Linked DNA regions of Homo sapiens: regions 1, 2, 3, 4 and 6 are each linked to region 5. Evidence: promoter capture Hi-C in 16 types of primary human blood cells and fetal thymus (Javierre and others, 2016). All regions are on one chromosome and are shown on one strand. The core of a region is centred on a gene start or on the middle of the fragment in contact, and the rest is flanking DNA. Distances in the headings are between cores, read along the strand shown.

Region 1 (3,990 bases), core at 211-2,710, 570 kb after region 5:
ATAAAGCCGAACTGTTTTCCAGAGTGACTGCATCTGTTCATATTCTCACTGTGAGAAAGCTCCTGTTGCTCTACACCTTATGAACAATTGCTATTATCAGATTTTTAAGCTTTATTCATTCTGGTGAATGTGGTTTTATTAAATAATTTGCATATCCCTAGTAACTAATGAGGCTAAGCACTTTTTCATATGCTTAATGACCAATCACATATCTGATCGTGAAGGATCCGTTCTGATCTCTTGACCGTGTTTCTAATGGTTTGTCTTTTCCTTATTGATTTATGGGAATTCTTTACATATTTTGGATACTCTGTTGTATTCATTTCCTATTGCTGCTGTAATAAATTACTACAAACTAAGTTAAAACCCTGCAAATGTATTCCCTTATTGTCTGCAGGTGAGAAGTCCAAAATCATTCTCAAGGGGTTGAAATCGAGGGGAGAACTGTTCCCTTGCCTTTTCTAACTTCTAGAAGTCACCTGCATTCTCCAGCCTGTGGCCCTTTCCACACATCACTCTAATCTCTTGCTTCTGTTGTCACATCTTCTGCTACATCTCTGCCTCCTTCTTATAAGAACTCTCATGATGCACTTGGAGGACCACCTAAATAATCCAGTCTAGTCTTCCCATTGCAGGATTCTCAGCTTAACCACATCTGCAAAGTACCTTTTTCCATGTAAGGTAAAACAGTCACAGGTTCTGGGCATCTGGATGTGGACATCTTTGGGGGGTCATTATTCTGACTACCACGTCTAGTATACAAAGCTAACAAAAAATAAATTTTTTTCAAATCAAACTACTACTAAGGTACCAAATCAAAGTGTCAATTTGAAAAGATAATAGTAACACCCAGTGCTGGTCAGAAGAGTGAATTACTAGCCTCTTGGAGAGCATTAGACAACACCTATGAAAGGCCTTAAAAAGGCCTATTCCTTTCGACCCTCTAATTCCACTTCCAGGACTTTGGCATCATCAGACACTGGGGAAGGGTGCAGCCATTAAAAACCATACTTAAAAGATACTTAATGGGCTGGGCGCAGTGGCTTATGCCTGTAATCTCAGCACTTTGGGAGGCCAAGGCGCGCAGATCATCTGAGGTCAAGAGTTTGAGACCAGCCTGGCCAACATGGCAAAACCCCATCTCTACTAAACATACAAAAATTAGCCAGGCGTGGTGGCATGTGTCTGTAATCCCAGCTACTCAGGAGGCTGAGGCAGGAGAATTGCTTGAACCTGGGAGGCAGAGGTTGCAACGAGCCGAGATGGAGCCACTGCACCCCAGCCTGGGTGACAAAGTGAGACTCCATCTCAAAAAAATAAAAATTAAAATTAAAAATAAAATAAAAAGATAAAAATGAAAGATACTTAATGGCATGATACACATTACAAGATATACCACAATATGTTAAGTGCCATTTACCTAAGTGTGTTTCTCAGAACATTAGTTCTATATAACTTCTACAGTAAAATGTTCCATACATATATTTGGGGAATATTGCACCCTTACCCTTCTTTCAGAAATGTATGATAATATTAGAATATTAAAGCCTCCAACAAGTCCTAGAAGAAGAAAAACATAACTACTTAACCCGATATTTCCCAAACTTATTTGACTACAGCTCTCTTTCTTTATGGAATACTTACTAAAATCTTGCAAAACTAGAGTCCATGTAACATACAGAAAATCTTATTGGCCAGGCATGGTGGCCCATGCCTGTAATTCCAGCGCTTTGGGAGGCTGAGATGGGAGTATGACTTGAGACCAGGAGTTCAAAACCAGCCTGGGCAACATAGCAAGATCCCATTTATAATTTTTTTTTTTTGAGCAGAGTTTTGCTCTTGATGCCCAGGCTGGAGGGCAATGGCATGATCTCGGATCACCGCAACCTCCGCCTGCCGGGTTCAAGCAAGTCTCCTGCCTCAGCCTCCCAAGTAGCTGAGATTACAGGCATGTGCCACCACACCTAGCTTATTATAAAAAAAATTTTTTTTTTAAATTAGTGAGGCATGGTGGTGTGCACCTGTAGCCCTGGCCACTCGGGAGGCTGAGGTGGGAAGATCGCATAAGCTGGGAGGCTGAGGCTCCAGGAAGCTATGATCACACCATTCACTTCAGCCTGGGCAATGGAGACAGAACCTTTCTCAAAAGAAAAAAAAAAGAATGCCCCGTTTCACACTGTATGGTCTATCGCATATAAGACAGCTATCTGTTTTGTCTTGTCATTTAAACTTTTTAAAAAAAATTAAATTTTATTTTGTTTTATTTTTTGAGATGGTGTCTCGCTCTGTTGCCCAGGCTGGAGTGCAGTGGCGTGACTTCGGCTCACTGCAACCTCCACCTCCTGGTGGCGATCCTCCCACCTCAGCCTTCCAAGTAGCTGGGACTACAAGGTGCATGCCACCACATCTGGCTGATATTTTTGCATTTTTCGTGGAGACAGGGTTTCACCATGTTGCCCAGGCTGGTCTCAAACTCCTGAGCTCAAGCGACCTGCCTGTCTCGGCCTCCCAAAGTGCTGGGATTACAGGCATGAGCCACTGCGCCCGGCCTAAACTTTTTAAATATATGCATTTACATAAAGTAGCCCACGCAGAAAAGTACTGATGTTCTTTCAAAACCATCAGGAACATGAGCTTTTATTTGAATGAACAGAAAAAAGAAACTGATTGCTATTCTTTGAAAAGAGGACTCTGTTGTATACATACCATAGCCCCCTGTTAACTACTCATTAAAAGTCTTTGAGATTTCTGCAGTAAAACAAGGTGATTACATCTTTGATAATCTAATGCTTCCTAAAATTATTTGATCAGGTAAGCTTTTCTTTGGTATAGAATATATATTTAAAAATCTCACACTCTTAGTGTTCCATGAAACACTCTTTGAGAAACATTGAATTAATTCATTTTTCAAATTTTCCAGTTATAGAAACTAAAGCCAGAGGAGAGAAGTGACAATCCCAAGGTCACCCAGTAAGTTATAGTTAGAGCCCCTCTACGCCAGGCTGCCTCGAAAGGAGAGGTCACTCAGACAGCAGTCACACTTACCTGTAACTGTGGGTTTATAATAAAAAATGGCAAGAATAACATAAATGTCCAGATATTCACCACTCAGCTTACAAACTACAGTTTTGCAAATATAGTCCAAGTCTTCTAAGTACCCCTCTCTGGTCCCATCTCACTTCCTTATAGAGGTAACCACTGTTTTAAAGCTGGTGTTTATCTTTTCTATGCATGTCTTTCTACATATACCACTGTGTTGATTTGCTAGGGATGCCTTAGCAAAGTACCATAAACTGTGGGGCCTAAGCAACAGAAAGTAGTTCTCTCATAGCTCTGGAGGCTGAAGTCCAAGACCAAGGTGTGAGCAGGCTGGTTCCTTTCCCTCTGTCTCCACATGGCCGGCCCTCTGTATGTGTCTCTCCTAATGGCTTCTTCTTCTAAGGATGCCAGTCCGATGGAATCTGGGCCCACCTTAATGACCTCATTTTAATTTAACAACCTCTTTGAAGGCCCTGTCTCCACATACAGTCACATTCTGAGAGTGCTGGGTTAGGGCTTCAACATATGAATTTTGGGGGGCACATTTATTTTGGCCTGTAACAACCTCCTACATGCTCTTTCTCCTACAGATAATTTTTTGGGAGATAATCAACAATGCTGCAATGAATATTCTCACACAAGGTTCGGTGTCACATTTGCTAACTAGAGCTGAGTGTATGTGCCTGGGAGTGAAATTGCTGGGTTATTCGGGTTGTTTATTGACTAGACCATCCTTTTCTCATTGATCCATAATGTTATATGTCAAGTTGCCAAAGACACATGGGAAATGTCTGGGCTTACCAGCCTGTGGGTCTGTTTGTCCCTCTGGACTAATTCACAAAGGAGAGCCCTCTGTTAGGGACTGAATTGTGTCCCTCCAGCTCCCAAATTCATGCTCTGAAGTCCTGATCCCCAGGACCTCAGAATGTGACCTAATTTGGAAATAGGGTT
Region 2 (4,064 bases), core at 403-2,902, 960 kb after region 5:
TCAGATGTCTGAGTTTCTTTATTTTCTTAAAAATGTCGTTGTTGAGAGTAGTCAAATACTTTACGTAATATATATAATCTTTATATAAAGTATATATACTTTGTAATTATATATAATCTTATATATAATCTTTATATAAAGTATATTATATATACTTTATATAATCTTATATATAGTCTTTAAAGTATATTATATATACTTTATATAATCTTATATATAATCTTTATATAAAGTATATTACATATACTTTATATAATCTCACTTGATGTAATTGACCTCTGATTTTGTCTTTCTTTTAATGTGTATCACGTGGTGGTATCCAGTAGCCTGGTAGATTGCAAAAGGACTGCCCCTCATCTTGCAGTTGCGGCCGAGGGAGGTCTGTCTAGTTCTTGCCCTCCACAGTCTTCCCTGTTCCATCCTTCGGAAAGGTAGAGGAGTTATTTTCCCCATTGGGATATATTCAATAATGAAAAATTTGATCTAACTCTTACTATAAGTCTATTTTACCATTAACCAAATTACTTATGAAGAAAATACCTGTAGATTATATGAAGTGAAAATTTTGATTTAACTTTTACAAATCGATTTCACTAACCAAATTACTTATGAAAAATATGTATATAGATTACTCTTTTCCTTTCGTTATAAGCATTTGTAGATGATCAGATTTTTTTTTTTTTTTAATTCCTAAATTTGACTCTCTGGAAATTATGGTTAAGCATATAATTTTACCTAATTCTGTGAAGTGCTTTGAAAATGAGAATAATGAAATATAGCTTGGGAATATGATCTTCTGTTTTCTGTCTCGGGTTGTTTGACAAATAAGTTTACAAGATATTTTTGGAATACCACTTTAATTTATTATAAACATTTAAGTAGTTTATTGGGCTGTCTGAATAATGGAGTCAGACACTTTCCACAGCATTTCTAGAACAGAATCTTGGAGAATGGCCTGGGCTGGGTCTCAGGCTGAGGATCAAAGGTTGGTGTGTTCACTCGATGTAGTCATCTCAGATTTCTGCCTTCATTCCCTCAGTTTTGACCTACCTACTTTGTGGACTTACATGGTTTACTTTGTAAGCCTTAGCAAATGAAGCTACGATTAATTTGTACGTGGAAAACCTTTTGTCTTTTTGATTAAAGATCCAGACCTCAGGATGTACTTCATTCAGAGGCTACATTTGCAGAAGAAAAGTCCGTTTAAAATGAGGAAAACAAAGTTGTTAATAGTTAAAACTAACTAGCCTTATTGGGACTGGCAAAAATACTGAAAACTTTGATAAGGCTAATAAATACCTTGTTTATGAACATCAGTCATTGACCTTGTAAGCTTACTTTTTTGAACAACCCTTGATCTTAAAATAATAATATTTCATGACGGAGCACTTTGGAGTCATCTTTCTGGTAAATCCCACTTGGCAGTGGGCCCCATTCCTGCGTCCTTTTTGGTCTGTCTGAATTCCCTCAGTGACGGTCGGCAGAAAGCGCATCTGTGTTTGTGCACGAGACCTTTGGAGAAGGGTTGCTGTGGCCTGAACGGGCAGCATTTATGGTGGTGGCCTGTTTGCTGTTGGGGAGGGACTTGCAGCAGACTTTCTCGTAGGGCTGGGCTCCTTATGCGTGAGTTGCACGCCTGAGTGCCTCTATGGGTTTTGTGGCTCGTGGCTTTTATGAAGGGACCAGAATGTTAGGAACTCTGGAGTTGGGAATTGCTGCAGGAGAACCGTGTTCCGCATTTCGTTCTTCTAGAGCAGAGGTTGGTAAAGCACGGCCCATGGGTCAAATCTGGTCCACCATCTGCCTCTGTCAGACTTTCCCGGGCATAGGCAGTTGGTTTACATACTGGCTGTGGCTGCTTTCACACCACCACAGCAGCGAGTGGTTGCGACAGACGTCGTAAAACCCGTAAAGCCCGAGATATCTGCCACTGGGCTCTTTACAGAAAATGTTTGCCGACCCCTGTTCGGAGCAAGCTTTGTCTAAAGGACTTTATTTCATTTAGTGACAGTGAGATAATTTATTGCTGCAAAGAACTTATAGCCAAATATGTTCTATTTTGTCTGGTGAAACAGAATGGCAAGAGCTTTTTAGATACTTTGAGGTTTGGGAACAGCACCGTTGAGGGTGAGAAGTTGGTTTTGATGGACTTATTCCATGATGATGCTGGAGAAAGAGTGGATTGCGGTCACACTTGTAGGTACTGAGGCCCCTCGCTGGAGGCCACAGCCTGCGCTTTTCCCATTGCAGTGATACCGAACACGTGACTGTAGACGCTTCAGTGCCACCAAAGCGTTGTCTCTTTGGAGAAGTCCAGTTGTGGAACTGGAAGAGCAAGGAGGTTGAAAGGCCAGGAGCCTTTCCCACATGGACGTGGGGGGGCCCACGTGCCTTCTTATAGGACTGCTCCCTAAAGGGCAGAAATGTGTGTCTGTTGGGAGCAGGGTGTCCCATTGCAGAAGCTCTCCTAATGTGATGTCAGGAGCCTCCTCTCCCCAGGCAGGCGAAAGAGAGCGTGCAGGCTGCCCCGTGGCAGCACGTCATTAGAAGGGCTGGGAGTCATGGGCACCAAGGGAGCAGGGACCACCCTCTGCCCCTTGGTGTGAGATGAGAGAGATGGCACTTGGTCTGGCTGCTCTATGCAGCTTGATCAAAGAGATTCAGGATCAGTTTAGCCCACAAGGTCCCTGTTTGTTGGATACAAGTTATGTATCATCATGAACTCACCTTGTATTGACAGGAAAGTTATATTCAATTGGAGTTGAACTCTAGGTAAATGAGACCAGAAGCATCAGTTTCCGAAGAATAGATAAGGTCTGGGAAAGAAGACGGCAAGGGAAACTGAAAGCTTTATTTCCTGCTTTGTCTGAAAAACCCTGCCGCCTTCCTCTAGAGGAAATGATGTGGGAAAATAAGCAATAATTAACCATGTTATTATGCGGCAATAAATAATTACAAGAATTGCTGCTGTAAATAATATTTCTCTAAGTTGTTTAGAATATGGTGAGGATCTTGTGGATAAGTTAATGACTTTTGGATGGTTACTTTGGCTGGGCAGAAGTAAGACCTTGTTTGGGTCTTCAGAGTAAAAATTCAGGAAACATGGAGGTGGTTACTGAGCGAGCCTTAACCAGTTGGTGAGTCCCTTGTGAAGTATTCCTGGAAGACATAAGATCTTAGAAAATTTCAACTTGTAGGCTCCTGCCCAACGTTATCGAGTTTATTTGTGGCATCCAGCATCTTTGGTAAAATTGGCACATCATATAATTTCCCTGTTTCCCAGGCCAGTGCAGATGATAAATATTTAAAATATGGACTCTAATGAGTGCCTGCCCGAGCCAACCAAGACCCTTTTGCAGCCCTCTGACAGCAGAGGAACTTGATTTGGAAACAGATTGCAGGAGATGCGAGTGCAGAGTGGGGTGGGGAAGGGTGGTCTTTTTGAGGTAAGAACAGACTATTTTTCCCTTTCTCTTTCCATCTCTTTCTTTTGTATTCTGGGCCACTTCTTTTTCTCCTCTCCCCCGCGGTGCACCAGGCGGCAGGGTGGGGCGGGCGACCCACGTGGAGCGCCTTCCATGGGAGGCGCTTCCCTGCCCCCTGGTGGCCGGAGGAGGGATTTGTCATGAGGCTCCGCTCAGAGCGAACGACAGCTGGGGGTGCATTTTCTGGGCTATTTGAGCCATGGAGCTGGGCCCAAAACATTTACAAAAGTTTCTTTTCCCACCTTAATTTTCGCTTTGTGTTTTCCTTAAGTCCTTCCGGTTCCCGACCTTCAACACCTAAAAGTGATTCAGAATTGGTCAGCAAGTCCACGGAAAGGACAGGGCAGAAGAACCCAGAAATGCTTTGGCTGTGGGGAGAGCTGCCGCAGGCTGCTAAGGTGAGAGTCTCTTCAATTCTGCCACGGACCGAAGATTTCTAACTCAGCTTAAATTACATGGAATTAGTATCATAGCATAGCCAAGAAACACAGCTACCAGGAGCCAGAGGTAAACCAAAATATATTAAGGGTTAGCCTTGAATGTTGGAATTACTTTCTTCCACGTTACCAACATTATAGA
Region 3 (4,187 bases), core at 712-3,211, 790 kb after region 5:
CAGCCAAGGCTTGCCTGCGCCCCAGCTCCTGTGCAGGACAGTTATGCAGCTGTAACCTGTGTGGGAGTTTTTTCCCTTCCTTTCCCTGCTCTTGCATCTCTGAGTCTAGCTCAGGACCTGCTGTGTAGGAGTCGCTCCTCAGGTGTCTGTTGAGTGAATGAAACCCAGTGCGCATGTTTGCAGTTACTGATGTATGTTCTTTGTGTTGCAGGGGTTTTGCTGGAGCTTGGTCTGAAGAAAGAGCACATGACGAAGCAGAGGGTGGAACAGTATGTTCTGAAGCTAGACACGGAGGCACAGACAAAATTTAAGGCTTTTCTGCAAAACTCCTTCCAGAACCCGCATACACTTTTTGTCCTAATCCATGACCATGCGCACTGGGATCTTGTGAGGTTAGATTGACTTGATATATGACAAGTTGACATTTTCCTTCTTTGAAGTGATGTATGTGGATGTTCCCGGGGGCTGAGGGTACAAATCCTGAAAAGATGGATGATGTTTGGGCTTGGTGTTTCTAAGCAGATGCCATGGAGGTTTCCCACAATCTTGAGCTGGAAGTTATCTCAGGGATTATCCAGTGTGACCTCTGAAATTTACCATGGTGGAATTTAAGGGCTGGAGAAGGGAAGCGTGTCTCCCAGAGTCACAGGGTGGGGTGGAGTGGGAGGGTGTTAGTGGCAGAGCTGAGACCCCGAATCACAGCCTGATGCCTGATGTGTTTCTTTCATAGTCCACTCAGCAACAAGGAGCCATGCTGGTGTGGGGTGCGGAGGGTCCTAGCAGGAGTAGCTCAGCTTAGCCCTTCCCTGAAAGAGGCTCCGTGGGGGCTCTGGTACCGTGGGTCACCACTGATGCCTGCCCTTCTTTTTTTTTTTTTTTTCCTTTTTTTGAGACGGAGTCTCACTCTGTCGCCCAGGCTGGAGTGCAGTGGTGCGATCTCGGCTCACTGCAGGCTCAGCCTCCTGGGTTCATGCCATTCTCCCACTTCACCCTCCTGAATAGCTGGGACTACAGGCACCTGTCTCCACGCCCAGCTAATTTCGTTTTTGTATTTTTTTTTTTTTTTTTTGAGACAGAGTCTCTCTCTGTCGCCCAGGCTTGGAGTGCAGTGGCACGATCTCCGCTCACTGCAAACTCTGCCTCCCGGGTTCACACCATTCTCCTGCCTCAGCCTCCTGAGTAGCTGGGACTACAGGCGCCTGCCACCACACCTGGCTAATTTTTTGTATTTTTAGTAGAGACAGGGTTTCACCGTGTTAGCCAGGATGGTCTCGATCTCCTGACCTCGTGATCCGCCCGCCTCGGCCTCCCAAAGTGCTGGGATTACAGGCGTGAGCCACCGCACCCGGCTGATGCCTGCCCTTCTTAAGGGGTGATTTGACTCACTCAGTTAAAATGAACATAAACCCAGATGAATTTCAGATGGGCCAAGCCAAGCGCCTGGCAGGATTTCTGGTGGTTTACCGGGATTGGTCATCTCCGTGAGACTGGCCTAGGGGTTGTACCTTCAGACATTTCCACTGATGTAGATGAGGAAGGAGGGGGCTCCTGGGCCAGGTCGTGGAGAAAGCCTTTGATTGTCGCAGATCCACAGATAGCTAGTTAGGCTGGTCAGGACATGAAGGACCTCGTAAAGGGTTTACAATCCAGAATCCATGTGTGGGCTTGGGGGAAATCGGAACATTCCGAAATTATAGAAAGAGCTGTATTGTGAATATTCATTTTGGGAATAGGTTTCTCAGAGTGGCCTCCTGCCATCCAAAGGGTTAAGCACTGATTTTTTTTTTTAATCCCCTAAACTTACAGGAGAGAATGCAAAGGCCTTTGTCCCACGGAAAAGTGCAGAGCTGGGCCTGTCTCCTAGACCCCTTGTCCAAAATGCTTCCCAATCCTTTCCTGCTGCCTTTTAAACTGACTATAGAATTTACTCTTTTACATCTTTTCTGGATCATTTCAAGGTCAGAAGGACTGTGTAAGGAGATAAGTACACAATCAGATGGGGCCAAAGAGGAACAAATGATTCATGGAACATCCCCAGGGTCATATCACTGTCCGATTGGGATAGAAGGAGTGTGTGTCTTGTAAGAAATCCTCTCTGACTACCGTCCCACGCCAGACACATTTTTCCTAAGTAACGAATCTCAGGAGAGCCCCTGACAGCTACCTGAAGTCCAGCCTTTTTTATTTTCTCTATTCTTAGTCAGGGGCAGAGCCATAATCTTTAGTCGTTGGTAAAGTCAGGGGTTAGTTATAAATTTATTCAACTGCTTCACCTTGCAAAATTAGAAAACAATATAGTAATTCCACTGATTGTGTCTTCTCCTCCCTCAGTAGCACTGTTCATAACCTCTATTCTCAAAGTGACCCGTCGGTGGGATTGGTGGACCGATTGCTCAACTGCAGGGAGGTGAAGGAGGCCCCCAACATTGTGACACTTCACGTGACCTCCTTCCCGTATGCACTGCAGACACAGCACACCCTCATCAGCCCCTACAACGAGATCCACTGGCCTGCCTCCTGCAGTAATGTGAGTGCCACGGGGCTGCTGGGCCCTTGTGTAGCAATATCACTTGGGTTTGCAGAAATTACATTTAGTAACAGCCTTGACCAGTGTGGTTGAGGATAATGGGTTCCAGCTCCTTGGATCTTTGGTTCAACCCAGAGTTAGGTTGTAAACCCTTCTTGGTCTTTTTGGTAACCTTCCTGCAGTACGCCAGTTGGCTTCCTCATCTCGGAAGATGTAATGCAGTTTGTGGGACATTTTCTCTGGTGACTGCCGCTTTCTGAGCAGCATGTGGAATGTTTGTTCTATGGCATTGAATGGAGATATTGAAGGTAGAGCCCTTAGGCGCTGGGGGCTTTGGGCTCCATACAGAGCAACGCTTAATGTCTCCAGAAGCCCTAGGAAGGTTCCTGTTTTCCCTATCCCTGCATCCTTAAGTAGTGAGATTCAGAATCTCCTTCCTCAAACTGAACACATATCCTCAAAACTTGATGAGTTTTTAGCTTATCACCTGACATTTTCTCATCAAAATAGAAGACTAAAACAATCCTGGTAATTTGAGAATTCTGGGTGGTTTGTAGTTAGTTACACAAGAATAAGTAAACGTAAGAGATGAGACTTTTTTGGAGTGCCTCGCAATCCTCTGAGAAACTTTAAAAAATACCTGGCTTCCGTCCTGTGGACTGAGAATCCATGGTGGGGATAGCCATTGTTCATAAGGCACTTCCCATAGGCCAGGGAAGCCCTGCCCAAAGTGCTTCGTGCTGTGAGCTCATGCAAGAGGCAGGTGCTAGGATGAGTTCTCATCTACAAATGGGGAACATGAGACAAAGTGGCCAACAAGAGTTGGGCCACTTGGCTCAGGCCAGGCAGCTAGAAAGTCGTGGAGCTAGGATATGACCCAGGCCACTGGCTCCATGGCTCGGCCCTTAACCACTGTGCTATTTAGGAGTAGAGTTTTCATGCCTTAATATTTTCAACAAACTCCCCCAACTTTGGAATTTTATGTCTGTGTGAGTAAAATTGGCTAGGTAAATGTTTTCTTTGTCTATTGATTTTTAGTAGCAACTGAATGCAAAATAATTGATTTGCCCATTCCTAAAACCAGCTTAAGATTGTAGAAAGAAGCAAATTTAACAAAGAAATGTATATGTTAAAATAAGATAAGGCTGATTTTCTTCTTGGTAAAAACATTGGGACCAAATGAATGGAAAACTCCTGAGCAATGGGGACACACCATTTTTAAAGTATGGGAGGTACTTTGCTCTGCTTCTGCAGATGGAAGAAGTTTATAAAATGCCATCCAAGCCACTGCACAGTGGGCACGATTTGGATGAAGTTGCCAACCCAGGTCATCCGCAGGCCTGGCACACGAACCTCTGACCGTCCCTGCGAATGCAGTGTTGGAGTGACCGACGCTCTTCTTTGTTTTAGGGAGTGGACTTATATCATGAAAATAAGAAGTACTTCGGGCTGTCGGAGTTTATTGAATCCACCCTTTCAGGACACAGCCTCCCCTTGCTCAGATACGATAGCTCCTTTGAGGCCATGGTCACTGCATTAGGAAAAAGGTACTTGTTTCTCTTCTAAGTTACTAGAAGTGCTCAGTAGCTTAAAGGGCAAGTTGAGGTGCGTTTAGCCAGCCAGGGAATTCCAGGAAGGGAGGCCTTTCCTTCCTGAGCAA
Region 4 (4,361 bases), core at 498-2,997, 640 kb after region 5:
TATGATATTCACATCCTTTGATTTCAGATTTCCTCAGGATTAATCAAAATACTTTTTTTCCGTAAGGTATCAGGCAACTTCAGTGCTTCTACTGGGAATTATGCTAAATTCTTAAGGAACAGCCCCAGTTATAAATGATTGCTTTAATTGGGAGCTGCTTCAACTATAACAAAGTCTGTTTTCTCCCCTTTAATGCAGTTAGGCCTGGGCTAGACACACATACACCACTGCTCCCTCCCACTCCACACCTCATTGTGATCTTATACCAGGGTGAGTCTGTGGAGATGCAGCCTCTCAGACGGTCTCAGAGCCTCACCTGCCCTTGCTATGACTTCCTGGTACTACAAGTGGGCTAGAGAACATCTGTGCTCAGCTTCTAGAGTGCCAGGTCACAACTGGTTTGAATGATAAATCCTGTACAATTTAATAGATATTTCTTAACAATAACATTCCACTAAATTAAGTGTTGTCAAACTTCCATAAAGGCTGAGATGGTAAATATTTTTGGCTTTGCAAGTCACACTATCCCTGTCACAACCTTTTAACTCTGCCACTATAGTATGAAAGCAGTCAGAAACAATATGTAAACAAATGTGCATGTGGCTGTGTCCTAATCAAATTATTTCTAAGAAAAAGGAGCAGGCCGGATCTGACCTGAGGGCCAGTTTGCCACCCATCACACTAGGTCCCCAGATCTTCACGGTCAGGCTCTGGCCAAGAGGGCCCATGTGCAGAGACTTTAAATAGGACTCTAAGAGAAGCCTCAGGTATGATCAAAGGCTCAGCCAGATTTAGCAATTACAGTCTGAAGCAGCTCACAGCATAGGGAAAAGCCAAAAATCCATTAGTCTCTGCAGAATGAATTATTATGCCCCAAAGTAAAGATGTGTTGATTGGCAGTTTCTTAAAAATAAAACAACTAGGAAACATCACCAAGAAATCATAACTTGAGTGTGACTGAGGTAAATGAAAGCCAGCCCTTACCCCATACACTGTGGAGTAATACAGGGCTCACTTGAACAGTGGTCTGCTGGGGACAAAAGGAAAAACAGGTCAAGAAAATATTCTTCGCTAGGCAGGAGGCAAACCCCCAGGGCAATGCAGAGGGCTGCACTGTGAGCACCGATGGGTCTATCAAGGCTGTCAGTCTTGAGGATGTGTCCCAAGAATGGCCACATTCCTTGGTTCTGATTCTGTCCTCATCAAGCAGCCTTCTGATGCAATTATCTTTCAATGCAAATTTTTCTGCAAGGGAAAGAACGCACTGAGCAGCTGGCGGCTGACAAAAATAATGTTCATTTACACAGAAATCCTACTTTTCCATTTTAAATTCAGAACCTAGCGTCCTGGTTTATTCATCAGTCTTTCAAGAGTTTGTTAATTCCCCAGTGCCTTGGCTGACACCAGACCTTACTTTTGCAACTTTAAGATGGGCCAATTCTTGGTGATTCTTCTAAGAAGCACTGCAGTACAATAGTGAAAAGCAAACTATGAAGCCACACTAACTGGGTTTGAATTCTGGTGATCCTGAAAAAGTTAACTCATCTTTGTGAGCTTTTGGTTCCTCATCTTTAAGATAATAATGACTACTTGACTTGTGTTAGTTGAAGCAAGTTAAATGTGTGAAGTGCCTTGAGCAGTATCGGATGTACAGTGCACGTGCACACAACGGCTCTTAAGTATGACTGCAATAAATCACAGCCTAAGCAGTCGGCCCTCATCCCTCTTTAAATCTTTTTAAAAATGCAGGGTTACCTACTTCTCTGGGAGCTGGAACATCCAATCTGGTTTCTGCTGGAGCTTTAACTGCAATGACGATCTGTTCATGGAAGGCCTGAATGCTATGAATGTCTTGATAGGTCACATATGCTAGTGTAAAACTCAGTCAAGGATCTCTACACAGAATGCTGTTTACTGGGGAGGTAATTTATCTCTAGTAATTCAGTTAACGCAAGGGTAATGTTAGAATGTTTTTAGTTTTTATGAGATACAAGTTCACCATTAAGGAAAGCAGTAAAAAAAAAAAAAATTCATTGATAATCTTTATTATTCACATAAAATTAAGATTTTTATGAAGGGTTTTACAATATTTACAACACAACCTAAAGAGTTTCTTTAAGCTCTACTATTATGATTATGATGGCAATTTCTGGAGAAAAATATTAATAAAGTCTGAGTCCCTAACACAAATACACCACATAAAGAAATTCAAATTTTCACCCTATTCCCTTTTCAGGTATAGTAAGCTAGATCTTACTATAACTTTGAGAAAAAACACTCAGGGCTTTGACAAGAATCCCCTAAAATGAAAGATGGAAAAAAATCTATAAAAAGGCATAAACGACTTAGAGATTAAGTTTCTCAAGACTATCATGTATGATGTTACTTCATCCAAAATTATTTTCCATCTCACTACCTGAGTCTTTTTCGTCTTGTCTCACTGTGTTGCCTCAAATTTTACCAATTAAGTGATTTACTGGATTTCTCTAGCATTTTTTTTTTCTGATTGGCTGCAGTAATGTTGGTGCTTATTTTTTCTTTTCCTTCCAGTACCTGTACTGTGGGAATAGAGGTTTTTGACTGCTGGAGAGAGTTTTAAGTAAATATGAGGTATGGGATAGCTCAGAATCAGTGAGCCCCTCAAAGGGTGCCACAGGGAACAGCACAGCATATAGGTTTAAGACACCCAGGAGGTCAGTACCAAAGACAAGGCTCCCCCAGCCCCACCCCCCAGCTCCCTGAGACACTGAGTTTCAAAGCAAAACTGCTACTAAGCAACAACGCGCTTCTGTGGACACAAATGGCAGTTTAAGCACCACTTCAATGGCAATTCACTGTTTCAGAAATCAACTTCCATTCACAAATTTCTAGGAAAAACATGAACTTCACAAAAGCCAACAAATATTTTATTATCCTTATAGTATTCAGACTATAAAAATGAATACTCACCATTTTAAGTGGTACCATCAACCTTGGTTTGGTACTGTACCCCTGAGGTCATCATCCAGAATTTAATCTAAGAAATGCCACACAGAAGTTAAAAAACCTACTGTTTGTGTATGTTTGAGGTTATACTACTACCAACTTTTACCTAACTTTTTTTTTTTTTTTTTTTGAGACGGAGTTTCGCTCCTGTTGCCCAGACTGGAGTGCAATGGCGCCATCTCCGCTCACAGCAACCTCGGCCTCCCAGATTCAAGCGATTCTCCTGCCTCAGCCTCCCAAGGAGCTGGGATTACAGCCATGTGTGCCACCACGCCTGGCTAATTTTGTATTTAACTTTCAATGGTCTAATTTTATATCTTAAATATATAAATTAAGTCCCCAAGCTGACTCTACTACTTAAGTAATCTGTTTTGGAAGCAGAAATTTTAAAAAGGTATAGACTTAAAGGATATCTTTCATTTTCTTTGTCATCTGTTAACTCAAACAGCTGCTGAGCACAATCCTTAATTAACTCATCCAAAGCATCTTCCATTGCTGATAAGTCAGAAAGTTCCTCCTGTAGCTTCTTTTGTTGGGGAACTGCTCCAAAATTGCTAAGATCAGATCCTCTTTAGAAGAAAAAAAATGTCAGCATCAATACCAACTAGGAGATAACAAAGTAATTTCAAGTTAGGTTATTGGAACTTCTCCAAATGTTTGCCATAAGTGTTTTCCACAACAATAGAAACTAGGGACTTTTAACTTCTGCCGTCTTTGTTCTAGACAGCCATTATTCCTTCTGTACATAAATTATTTATAGTTCTTCATCTTATACAGTCTTTTTCAAAAAAATACATTACAACCTAACAGAAATTAATAACAGCAGAGGCAGCCTAAGGAAATAAAAAGGGCACTGAACTAAGAGTCAATAACACCCAGCTTCAGCCTCAGTCCTAGTACTTACAACGCAGCTTCTGATAAGTTATAATCGTACAGTACTTGAGTTCCTACACATGAAAACATAGGGTGGGCTAAATGACAGTGCCTCTGCTAACATGTGAGGAGTCTGTATCTTTCCCTAGTGTACACATTCTGTCTGAATATAATGATTATATTCATCATTTAAAAAAAGACATTATTTTCAGGCCAGGCATGGTGGGTCACGCCTGTAATCCCAGCACTTTGGGAGGCTGAGGCAGGTGAATCAACTGAGGTCAGGAGTTATAGACCAGCCTGGCCAACATGGTGAAACCCCGTCTCTACTAAAAATACAAAAATTAGCCGGGCGTGGTGGTGTATGCCTGTAATCCCAGCTACTGGGGAGGCTGAGGCAGGAGAATCACTTGAACCCAGGAGGTGGAGGTTGCAGTGAGCCGAGATTGTGCCACTATACTCCAGCCTGGGTGACAGAGCAAGACCCCGTCTCAAAAGAAAAA
Region 5 (4,152 bases), core at 855-3,354:
GGTTACAAGGAAACCTAACATACTACTGAGAAAGAACAGACAAAAGATGTGGACATTCTGAATGCATAAAAGTAGCCAACAACTACCTCCAACCCCCAAGAACACAAAAAACCCTGGGCTCACTTAAGATGACAAAGTAGGTCAATGCTGACCAATGACGTTCTGTTTCTAAAATTCACATCACCATTCCACTCAGTGATAATGAACACCAATGGGAAATTGGACCATCCGAGTGAGTGTCTAGAATCTCTGTGAGCAGATGGCTCTGCCATCTGTGGTTTTCCATTCCTCCATGGCAGTTAAGGATGCTATAAATTCACATCAGTAACATCTCTGTCCCACATCTGCTAGGAGGAGTCTACAGTCCCAGAGCAGTCATCTAGAAACCATGAGGTTTCCCAGAAAGGCTGCCATTTATTAAAATGAGTTAATTAATAGACTCACGGACTCTTTCAGGGTCTAGTCTGAATTCACTCACAGGAAACTAAACAGACTAAACTCTTTTCCCCTCATCTACTCTCTCCACAGTAATATGGCAAATATTTACATCTCTTTAAAACATGTACTAGCTGGGCCAGGTGACTGACACTTGTAATCCCAGGATTTTGGGAGGTTGAGGAAGGAGGATCACTCGAGGCCAGGAGTTTGAGACCAACCTGAGCAATACAATGAGACCCTGACTCTACAAAAAATTTAAAAATTAGCCAGGTGTGGTGGCATGTGCCTGGATCCCTTGAGACCAGGAGTTCCAGGCTGCAGTGAACTATGATGGAAACCCTGCACTCCAGCCTAGGAGACAGAGCAAGACCGTGTCTCAAAAAACAGAAAGACATGTACTAACTCATTAATCCTCAGGACAACCCTAAGGGAGTACTATTATCAGTCCCTAAAATGGTGAACACCGTTGAAAAGGCACTGGCACAGAGTGGTTAAGTAACTTGCTCCAAGTCACAGAGCCAGTAAATAGGGGGAAGGTGGTCTGAGGCCAGAGCCGAGGTTAAGGACTGTCAGAGCCAAGGCTGTGACCAAGGCGAGCCCGGCAAGGACAGGACCCTCGGCCTCGCCCACTAAGAAGCAGACATTTACAGAATTCCTAAGACGCCGCGTTCCATTTCGTTTTTAAGGAGTCCGATCACATGCGAAGCGCCCCTGCGTCTTAAGCCCAGCTTTTGGAAGGCACTGTCCCTTTCTAAGGGAACTATGGGTCCTTATTTCAGGACTGAGATTTAACATTTCAGTTTTTCGTTTCTGAGACAGAGTTTCACTCTTGTTGCCCAGGCTGGAGTGGCGCGATCTCGGCTCACTGCAACCTCCGCCTCCTGGGGGTTCAGGAGATTCTCCTGCCTCAGCCTTCTGAGTAGCTGGGATCACTGGCGCGCGACACCACGCCCGACTAATTTTGTATTTTTAGTAGAGACGGGGTTTCGCCATGTTGGTCAGGCTGGTCTCGAACTCCTGACCTCAGATGATCCACCCGCTTCGGCCTTCCAAAGTGCTGGGATTACAGGTGTGAGCCACCGCGCCCGGCTTAACATTTCAGTTTTTAAAAGTAGGAGCTGCATAAAGCAGGTGGCAGAAACAAGCAGCAGTGCAGGACGCCCGCCAACCTCCGTCCCCACGCACGAGTTCGAGAAGAGCCCGGAACAAGCTCCCCTGCGACTCTCCGGGAATACAGACCCCCTCCCCGGGATCCGGCCGGGGCTGGGCTCCGCGGCTCTCCCGCCCGGCCCTGGACCCCGCGCCCGGCTCCAGCGCACGAGGCTCCCGCCCCCCGCGGCTGCGGAAGCCCCTCCCCACGGGCGCCCGAGTCTCCCGCGCACCCGCACCTCCGCCGGGGCAACCTAGCAGCTCCTCCGGACGCCGAGGCCCGCGCCTCCCGCCCGCCAGGCCCACTTCCGGCCGCCTGCGGCCGCGGCCCGCCGGGGAACGGCCTAGAGATTCGAAACCTTTCAGGCCGACCCCAGCTCGCCCGCCTCCCTCCGCTGGCCCGCACCTACCGAGCACCAGGAGAGCCATGCCGAGCGCCGGGCTACGTGCAGTCCCCACCGCCGCCGCCGCTTCAGCCCTGCAGCGTGCCGCACGCCGCGCCCCCGCGCCCACGTCCCGCCCCAGGCCAGTCCGGTGGTCCGAGGGGCGGCCGCGCGGGGGCGGGCCGGAAGGCGCTCGCCAAGCCGTGGCTGCGGCTCATTGGTCCGGGCGGACATCGCTCACTCACATATCCAATGGGAGGCGGCCGGGTAGAGGTTACCGGTTTGGTTTTTTTTCACGGGGGCGGTGGCGAGCAGCGGAAGGCGGGGCCTGCTGGGGGCGGGGCTGGCAGTCTCGGCTCGCACCGCCTCAGCTCCTCCGGGCCCTCTCGGGGTGCTGCTCGGAGGGGAGTCCAGTACTGGGCGTTTTTACCTTAGTTCCTTATTCTGCACCCCCCCACCCCGCCTCCTCCTTGCCTGTGTGCGCCCCCACCCTCTTTATCCCGGGGGAGCGTGACTCGGCCTCAGGGCACCCACGGTCCTGGGAGCTGACAGGGAATTCCTCTTGTGCCCGACGAATATTCCGTGGACACACATTTGCTCCGCACGCGCTGTCTGCAATGTAATTCGACAAGTTTCTATTTTGTTGAATTACTTTTGAAAGTTCTTCCGTCCAGGGCGCATGGCTCTGCAGAGCCTTCTCCTCCTTCTCTGGAGAACCCCAGGGACTTAAGCGGTAGCCTCCTCGCTGACAGGGTCTCCACTTTGTCCTGGGGGGCGAGGGGGCTGGCAATGCGCTCACGTGGGTGTGTGCTTTGTAAAATATGCAAAAGTGAAAAAAAATATGTTTGTGGGGCAGGCTGGCGAGCAGTGGCATGATACAGTTCACTGCAGCCTTGAACTCCTGGGCTGCAGTGAGCCTCCTGCCTCGGCCTCCCAAAGTGCTGGGATCACAGGCATGGGCCACCACGCCCGGCAAAAGTAAAAATTTTTTTGCTTTTTTTTGAGATGGAGTTTTGCCCTTGTTGCCCAGGCTGGAGTGCAAAGGCGGGGTCTTGGCTCACTGCAACCTCTGCCTCCCGGGTTCAAGCGATTCTCTTGCCTCAGCTTCCCGAGAAGCTGGGATGACAGGTGCATGTCACCACGCCCGGCTAATTTTTGTATTTTTAGCAGAGACAGGGTTTCTCTTGCCTCAGCTTCCCGAGAAGCTGGGATGACAGGTGCATGTCACCACGCCCGGCTAATTTTTGTATTTTTAGCAGAGACAGGGTTTCTCCATATTGGCCAGGCTGGTCTCGAACTCCCGACCTCAGGTGATCCGCCTGCTTCGGCCTCCCAAAATGCTAGGATTACAGTTGTGAGCCACCACGCCCGACCTAAAAGTAAAATCTTTCAAGCACAAGTTAAGACCACTGTATCTTTCCGCCTTGATTCTCCCTCCTATGTTTGGAGTGGACTCGGACATTTTGTTTTTGTATTAGTAATTTCTCCATATTGTAGTGTGTAAGGCATAAGTATTCTTAGGCAGGGGTCCAGGAGTGGTGGGGGCCGGCTGGTGGGCTTCCTGGAGGAAGTGGCACTAGAGCTGCGTTTGGAAGATTTTTCAGGCAAACTGAACTCAGAGGCACAGCAGCCCTCTGAAGTCACGGGGGCCTCTCCTGGAAGCCACATGCCAGCATTGATTTTCCCCAGGGAGGCTGCTTGTCCCGGGACAGAAATCCTCAGCTTGGTACCCCGGGCAGCTCCTCCTGAATGTGAAGGTGCGTGGGAAGCCCAACCGGTGATCGCAGGGCTGTTTGGGATTCACAGCAAAGGGCAGTGGACTGCGAGCCTGTTCCTCCAGGCCTGTCTGCTTTCCCTGAAGGGCGCCTGAGGGGCAATGAATGCTGTTTGTTTTTCTGACCCCTTTCCTGCATTTGACACATTTCCCCCCTTAAATTTGCTGCTGTTGCTGACTGGATTACAGCGAAGTCCTTCCTTTTCCTCTCAGCCTGGAAAGTCATGCTTTTCCTCCCTGGATGGAGGAATTTAATTCTCTTACCAGAAGAGGGCCCCTTCATTTGTCTTTACATTAAGACAGTTAACTTTGTCCCCATGGGCCACAGACATCACAGCTTCCACAACGCACTCACGATCGAGTTTGTTTTCTCAGGGTTGTGAGTTGATCGCAGCCTCTCCAGGCCTG
Region 6 (4,566 bases), core at 968-3,467, 600 kb after region 5:
ATTAATTCTGACCTGGCTATTTGTGAATAAACAAAGATTAATACAGTGATTTCCATTTTGCTGAGTATTTTTCGGCCTCTGAACAGGACGGTCACATGGTTTTGCTCTTGTTTGCATGAAGCGAAATTCTGGGGTCCTCTCAATAAACCCACAAGAGTTTCTATCTCATAATGAGAGCTGGCTTCTTGTGTTTTTGAGGCAGAATTTTGACAGTGTTTCTTGTGCATTCTTCACCATCATTTGGAGCCACCACCTTGGCAACGTCTGTAGACAAGGAGATAAGGGACTCTCAAATCTATCCTTGAAGAGGAAGTGGCCCCAGAGTTCCGATAAAATCCTGCCGTATACGGGCTGTATAAAAGCAATTTGACCACTTGCGATTTTGAGTCTTAAGAATCTTTCAATTTCTCAGCCTCTGGCAGGAGTAAGAGAATAATATCCTGGATGTTTATAAAATTCGATAACCTTTTAAATCCATCCCACTTGAAGGAATAGCTAGATTTCTGGACCCCCATTTTCTGAGGCTTTCCAGGATGGACGCATGCTATCAGCTCCCCCTGCAGGTCTGACTCTTTCCTGACAGGGAATTCCTGGAGGTCCACTGAGAAAATGGATTCTGGAAGGGCTCTAAATTGTGTCGCACAGACGAAATGCTTCGACTGCTTGGAAATGACCCACCTTTCTGCTGGAAGCCACATGTCCTGGGAATGCACCAAAGTCTGAATCTGTCAGTACCTTACTATGCTGCAGGAAAACAAAGTCCCACCCAGAACTCCAGTGCCCAGGCAGGACCTTCCTTGCGCTAAACGCGCTTTAGAATGTTCAATTCTCTCTCTTCTTTGTAAGCACTGTGGCCCTGTGGTAAATCCATCACAGATAAAATGGCCTCTACATGAGCCATGTGCTAAAAAAGGATACGTACACCCATTGTGTGTTGAGTCTAAAAGTTGTTTCTCAAAAAGTTTTGGATTGTCCCAAATTTTATATGTGAGTTTGCTGATTCAGTCATTCAATAAATATTGTGATAGACATTCTGCTATGTGATTGATATGCGATAGACATTGTTTTAGGCACCCTGGATAAAGCAAGGGACCAAGGCAGGCTAAGACCCCATCCTCATGGAGCTTCAGGAACAGCAGTGACGACATACAGTAAACAAGTGCATGAACATGTGTGGTGTGATTTCATGTGGAGATGGTGCTATAAAGAAGAGTAAAACAGGATAGGCTGGGCATGGTGGCTCACGCCTGTAATCCCAGCACTTTGGGAAGATGAGGCAGACAGATCACTTGAGGTCAGGAGTTTGAGACCAGCCTGGCCAACATGGTGAAACCCCATCTCTACGAAAAAATACAAAAAAATTAACCAGGCATGGTGGCACATCCCTGTAGTACCAGTTACTTGGGAGGCTGAGACAGGAGAATCACTTGAATCTGGGAGGTGGAGGTTGCAGTGAGCTGAGGTCGCACCACTGCACTCCAGCCTAAGCAACAGAGTGAGACTCTGTCTAAAAAAAAAAAAAAAAAAAAAAAAAAAGCTGGGTGCAGTGGCTCATGCCTGTAATTCCAGCACTTTGGGAAGCCAAGGTGGGCAGATCACAAGGTCAAGAGATTGAGACCATCCTGGCCAATATGGTGAAACCCCATCTCTACTAAAAACACAAAAATTAGCTGGGTGTGGTGGTGGGCACATGTAATCCCAGCTACTGGGGAGGCTGAGGCAGGAGAATCGCTTGAACCCGGAAGGCAGATGTTGAGCTGAGATTGTGCCACTGCACTTCAGCCTGGTGACAGAGCAACACTCCATCTCAAAAAAAAAAAAAAAAAAAGAGTAAAGCAGGATAAAGAATTGGAGTGATTGGGGTGTACTCTTTTTGAAAGACTGGTCAAGGTAGGTTCAGTTAGAAACCTACATAAAGGAAGACAACAACCAACCCATGTGAAGATGTGGGTGGAGAGCATTTCAGGAGAGGAGGCGGCAAGTGCAAATGACCTGAGATGGAAATGAGCTTGGTGCGCTCCAGGAAAAGCAAAAAGGCCAAGAGAGACAGGACTGCAGAGTGCTAGGGAGTCAGTAGGAGGAGATGGAGCCCAAGAAGTAGGCAGGGTACACTGTGTAAAGAATATGGTAAGGAGTTTGGATTTTATTGTGAGATGGGCAACCGTTGGAGCCCTTTCAGTAGAAGAGTGAAGTGATCTAATTTACGGTTTCAAAACTTCCCTTCTGGCTACTATGTGCAGAAAAGACTCAAGAAAGACAGGTGTGGAGCCAGGGAATCTCAGTGGGGGGCTATTTTATAATAGAAGCCCTCTGAGAGGTGCTGGTGTCTTGGTAGTGGTGAGACGTAGGCAATTTCTGGCTGTATTTTGAGGACAGAGCCACAGGACGTGTTGGTTAATTGGATGTAGGAAGTGAGATAAAAGAAATAAATCCGGCTGGGAGCCATGGCTCATGCCTGTAATCCCAGCACTTTGGGAGGCCGAGGTGGGCGAATCATGAGGTCAGGAGATCGAGACCATCCTGGCCAACATGGTGAAACCCTGTCTCTACTAAAAATATAAAAATTAGCTGGATGTGGTGGCGCACGCCTGTAATCCCAGCTACTTGGGAGGCTGAGGCAGGAGAATCGTTTGAACCGGGGAGGCAGAGATTGTAGTGAGCCGAGACTGCGCCACTGCACTCCAGCCTGGGTGACAGAGTGAGACTCTGTCTCAAAAAAAAAAAAAAAAAAGAAAGAAAGAAAAGAAAAAGAAAAAAGAAATAAATCAAATATGACTCCTGGGTTTTTGGCCTGGGCAACTGGGCAATTAACTGAGATTGGGAGGACCGGGGGAAGAACACATTTGGGTGGGTGGCATCAAGAGTTCTGCTTGGACAAGTTAAGTTTAAGAAACTTATTAGTCATCCATCTGGAGATGTCAAGCAGGCAGTCTGGAACACATGCTCGATGCAGGAATAACGAGGAGAAAACTATTTATGGAAAGAGGAGCTCCGTTCTGTAATACATTGTGACACCTGGTTGTGAGCCTTCTCCTCTCCTAGGTCTTGGTTTTCTGTTTTGTAAAATGATGGGCTTGGCTGGTCTCTGAGGGTCTTTTCGGTCATGCAAGTAGAAAAGAGAAGATTCGCATTGAAATTCACTGAGCAACAGGAGAGGGCTAGGCCTGCTGCTGGCCGGACATAAAACCGTGAGACGGAAGACCCCAAGAAGACTGGCAGCTTATCTTAGGAATCTGAATTGGAAATGAGTCTTTGCAAAGCAATCACAGGCTTGTTCGAAAGTGGGAGTTCTGGGGCAGGCAGCAGTTTAGCAGCAGCAGATGAATTTGCTCAAAGCAAAGCGGTATAAAACTTGGTATAAACAGGATTTGCAGGGAAGACAGTGAAGTGATGCTACTTCACTTCCTGGATCCTCTATCACTGTAACAGGTAAATATGGGCACCTGTGTCTGCCAGGAACATTGACGTTTAATAGAGAATTTTTTGTTTTGCTTTTTGCTTTACCTGTTTTTCTTTTTTTTTTTTTTTTTTGAGACTGAGTCTCGCCCTGTCGCCCAGGCTAGAGTGCGGTGGCACGATCTCGGCTCACTGCACCCTCTGCCTCCCAGATTCAAGCAATTCTCCCGCCTCAGCCTTCTGAGCAGCTGGGATTACAGGTGGGCGCCACCACGCCCGGCTAATTTTTGTATTTTTAGTAGAGACGGGGTTTCACCATGTTGGTCAGGGTGGTCTCAAACTCCTAACTTCGTGATCCACCCGCCTCGGCCTCCCAAAGTGCTGGGACTACAGGTGTGAGCCACCGCGCCCAGCCCTTACTTTACCTTTTTTGACACTGGCCTACATTGCCTGGATATACACGTAGCTTATTTTGTTTTTTTTCTTTCATTTTTCTGTTCATATTTAGTCTTCTCACTGTACAAAGTGCTTTCATATTTCTGAACACCACATTGGGTCAGCATAACAGCCCTGTGGCTAGGAACATAATTAGATAATCCTGTTTTGGAGATAAATAAACTGAAGTTCAGAGAGGTTGAGTAACTCGCTCAAGACCACCCAGACACCATAAGGATGAACCTATTTTGAACCCGGGTTTTATGGATCCCTATGATTTCCTCTTTCTCATTATTCCATTTGGTCTTCCAAATGGAGAGGCTTACTAAAGATTACTTGACCAATTCCTGGATACTCTACGGCACAGTTGATTATTTTGTGCTTTTCTTTTCAGATGGGAATATAAAAATGACACTGGTTTAGGTTTTCATGTTGCTTTATAAAGCCTCCCTGGTATTAAGTAGTGAGGCATGTGGTACACTTCTGAACTAGTGTTTTTTTGTTTTTGTCTTTTAAAGTCTTTCAAATACAACTCTTAGACACTATAACAAGTTTAGGAGTATTTGGGTTTTCTCTTCCACAGTGATGTTCAGCAGAGGGGAAGGAAGATCTTAGCAATACTGTCAGTGGAGGGAAGGCTAAAGTGGAAGCTTATGCTTTTCAGCTTCTATGATTTGGATGATGAGATGGCCAGGTGATTCTAATCCAGAAGTGCTTTCTAATTTGTTGTAATTA

Evidence for each region. The method cuts DNA at HindIII sites, captures the fragments that hold promoters and counts their contacts. A CHiCAGO score of 5 or more calls a contact.
Region 1: a contact is called between a fragment that was not itself captured here and the fragment with the promoter of PDIA6 in region 5, in 1 of 17 cell types (M2 macrophages). The highest score is 5.0, in M2 macrophages.
Region 2: a contact is called between a fragment that was not itself captured here and the fragment with the promoter of PDIA6 in region 5, in 1 of 17 cell types (total CD8 T cells). The highest score is 5.6, in total CD8 T cells.
Region 3: a contact is called between a fragment that was not itself captured here and the fragment with the promoter of PDIA6 in region 5, in 1 of 17 cell types (megakaryocytes). The highest score is 5.0, in megakaryocytes.
Region 4: a contact is called between a fragment that was not itself captured here and the fragment with the promoter of PDIA6 in region 5, in 7 of 17 cell types (naive CD4 T cells, total CD4 T cells, fetal thymus and 4 more). The highest score is 7.7, in naive CD4 T cells.
Region 6: a fragment that was not itself captured here is called in contact with the fragment with the promoter of PDIA6 in region 5 in 2 of 17 cell types (M0 macrophages and endothelial precursors); the score reaches 7.0 in M0 macrophages.

The regions. Positions count from the first base shown.
Region 1 is chr2:11,382,067-11,386,056 of GRCh38, forward strand. LOC124907734 (a long non-coding RNA gene) reads left to right here and starts at 2,935. Exons shown (of 2, transcript XR_007086217.1): 1 at 2,935-3,681. The HindIII fragment of the contact is 2,707 bases long and covers 108-2,814 here.
Region 2 is chr2:11,775,763-11,779,826 of GRCh38, forward strand. It overlaps LPIN1 (lipin 1), which reads left to right. Exons shown (of 21, transcript NM_001349206.2): 6 at 324-431; 7 at 3,757-3,883. Among named protein-coding and RNA genes, the nearest start is that of MIR548S, 10 kb to the left of the region's middle. RefSeq lists an enhancer at 3,166-4,064. The HindIII fragment of the contact is 643 bases long and covers 1,332-1,974 here.
Region 3 is chr2:11,598,469-11,602,655 of GRCh38, forward strand. It overlaps GREB1 (growth regulating estrogen receptor binding 1), which reads left to right. Exons shown (of 33, transcript NM_014668.4): 15 at 212-392; 16 at 2,332-2,527; 17 at 3,938-4,074. Among named protein-coding and RNA genes, the nearest start is that of MIR4429, 60 kb to the left of the region's middle. RefSeq lists a silencer at 142-346. The HindIII fragment of the contact is 4,830 bases long and covers 1-4,187 here.
Region 4 is chr2:11,448,253-11,452,613 of GRCh38, forward strand. E2F6 (E2F transcription factor 6) reads right to left here. Exons shown (of 7, transcript NM_198256.4): 4 at 3,399-3,554; 5 at 1,760-1,874. Among named protein-coding and RNA genes, the nearest start is that of E2F6, 16 kb to the right of the region's middle. RefSeq lists a silencer at 1,075-1,336. The HindIII fragment of the contact is 6,201 bases long and covers 1-4,361 here.
Region 5 is chr2:10,810,681-10,814,832 of GRCh38, forward strand. It overlaps PDIA6 (protein disulfide isomerase family A member 6), which reads right to left and starts at 2,105. Exons shown (of 13, transcript NM_005742.4): 1 at 1,998-2,105. The coding sequence starts at 2,016. RefSeq lists enhancers at 12-121, 1,108-1,167 and a silencer at 1,658-2,407. The HindIII fragment of the contact is 7,767 bases long and covers 1-4,152 here.
Region 6 is chr2:11,411,642-11,416,207 of GRCh38, forward strand. The region is part of intron 2 of LOC105373429 (a long non-coding RNA gene); the gene reads left to right. Among named protein-coding and RNA genes, the nearest start is that of LINC00570, 20 kb to the left of the region's middle. The HindIII fragment of the contact is 4,524 bases long and covers 1-4,479 here.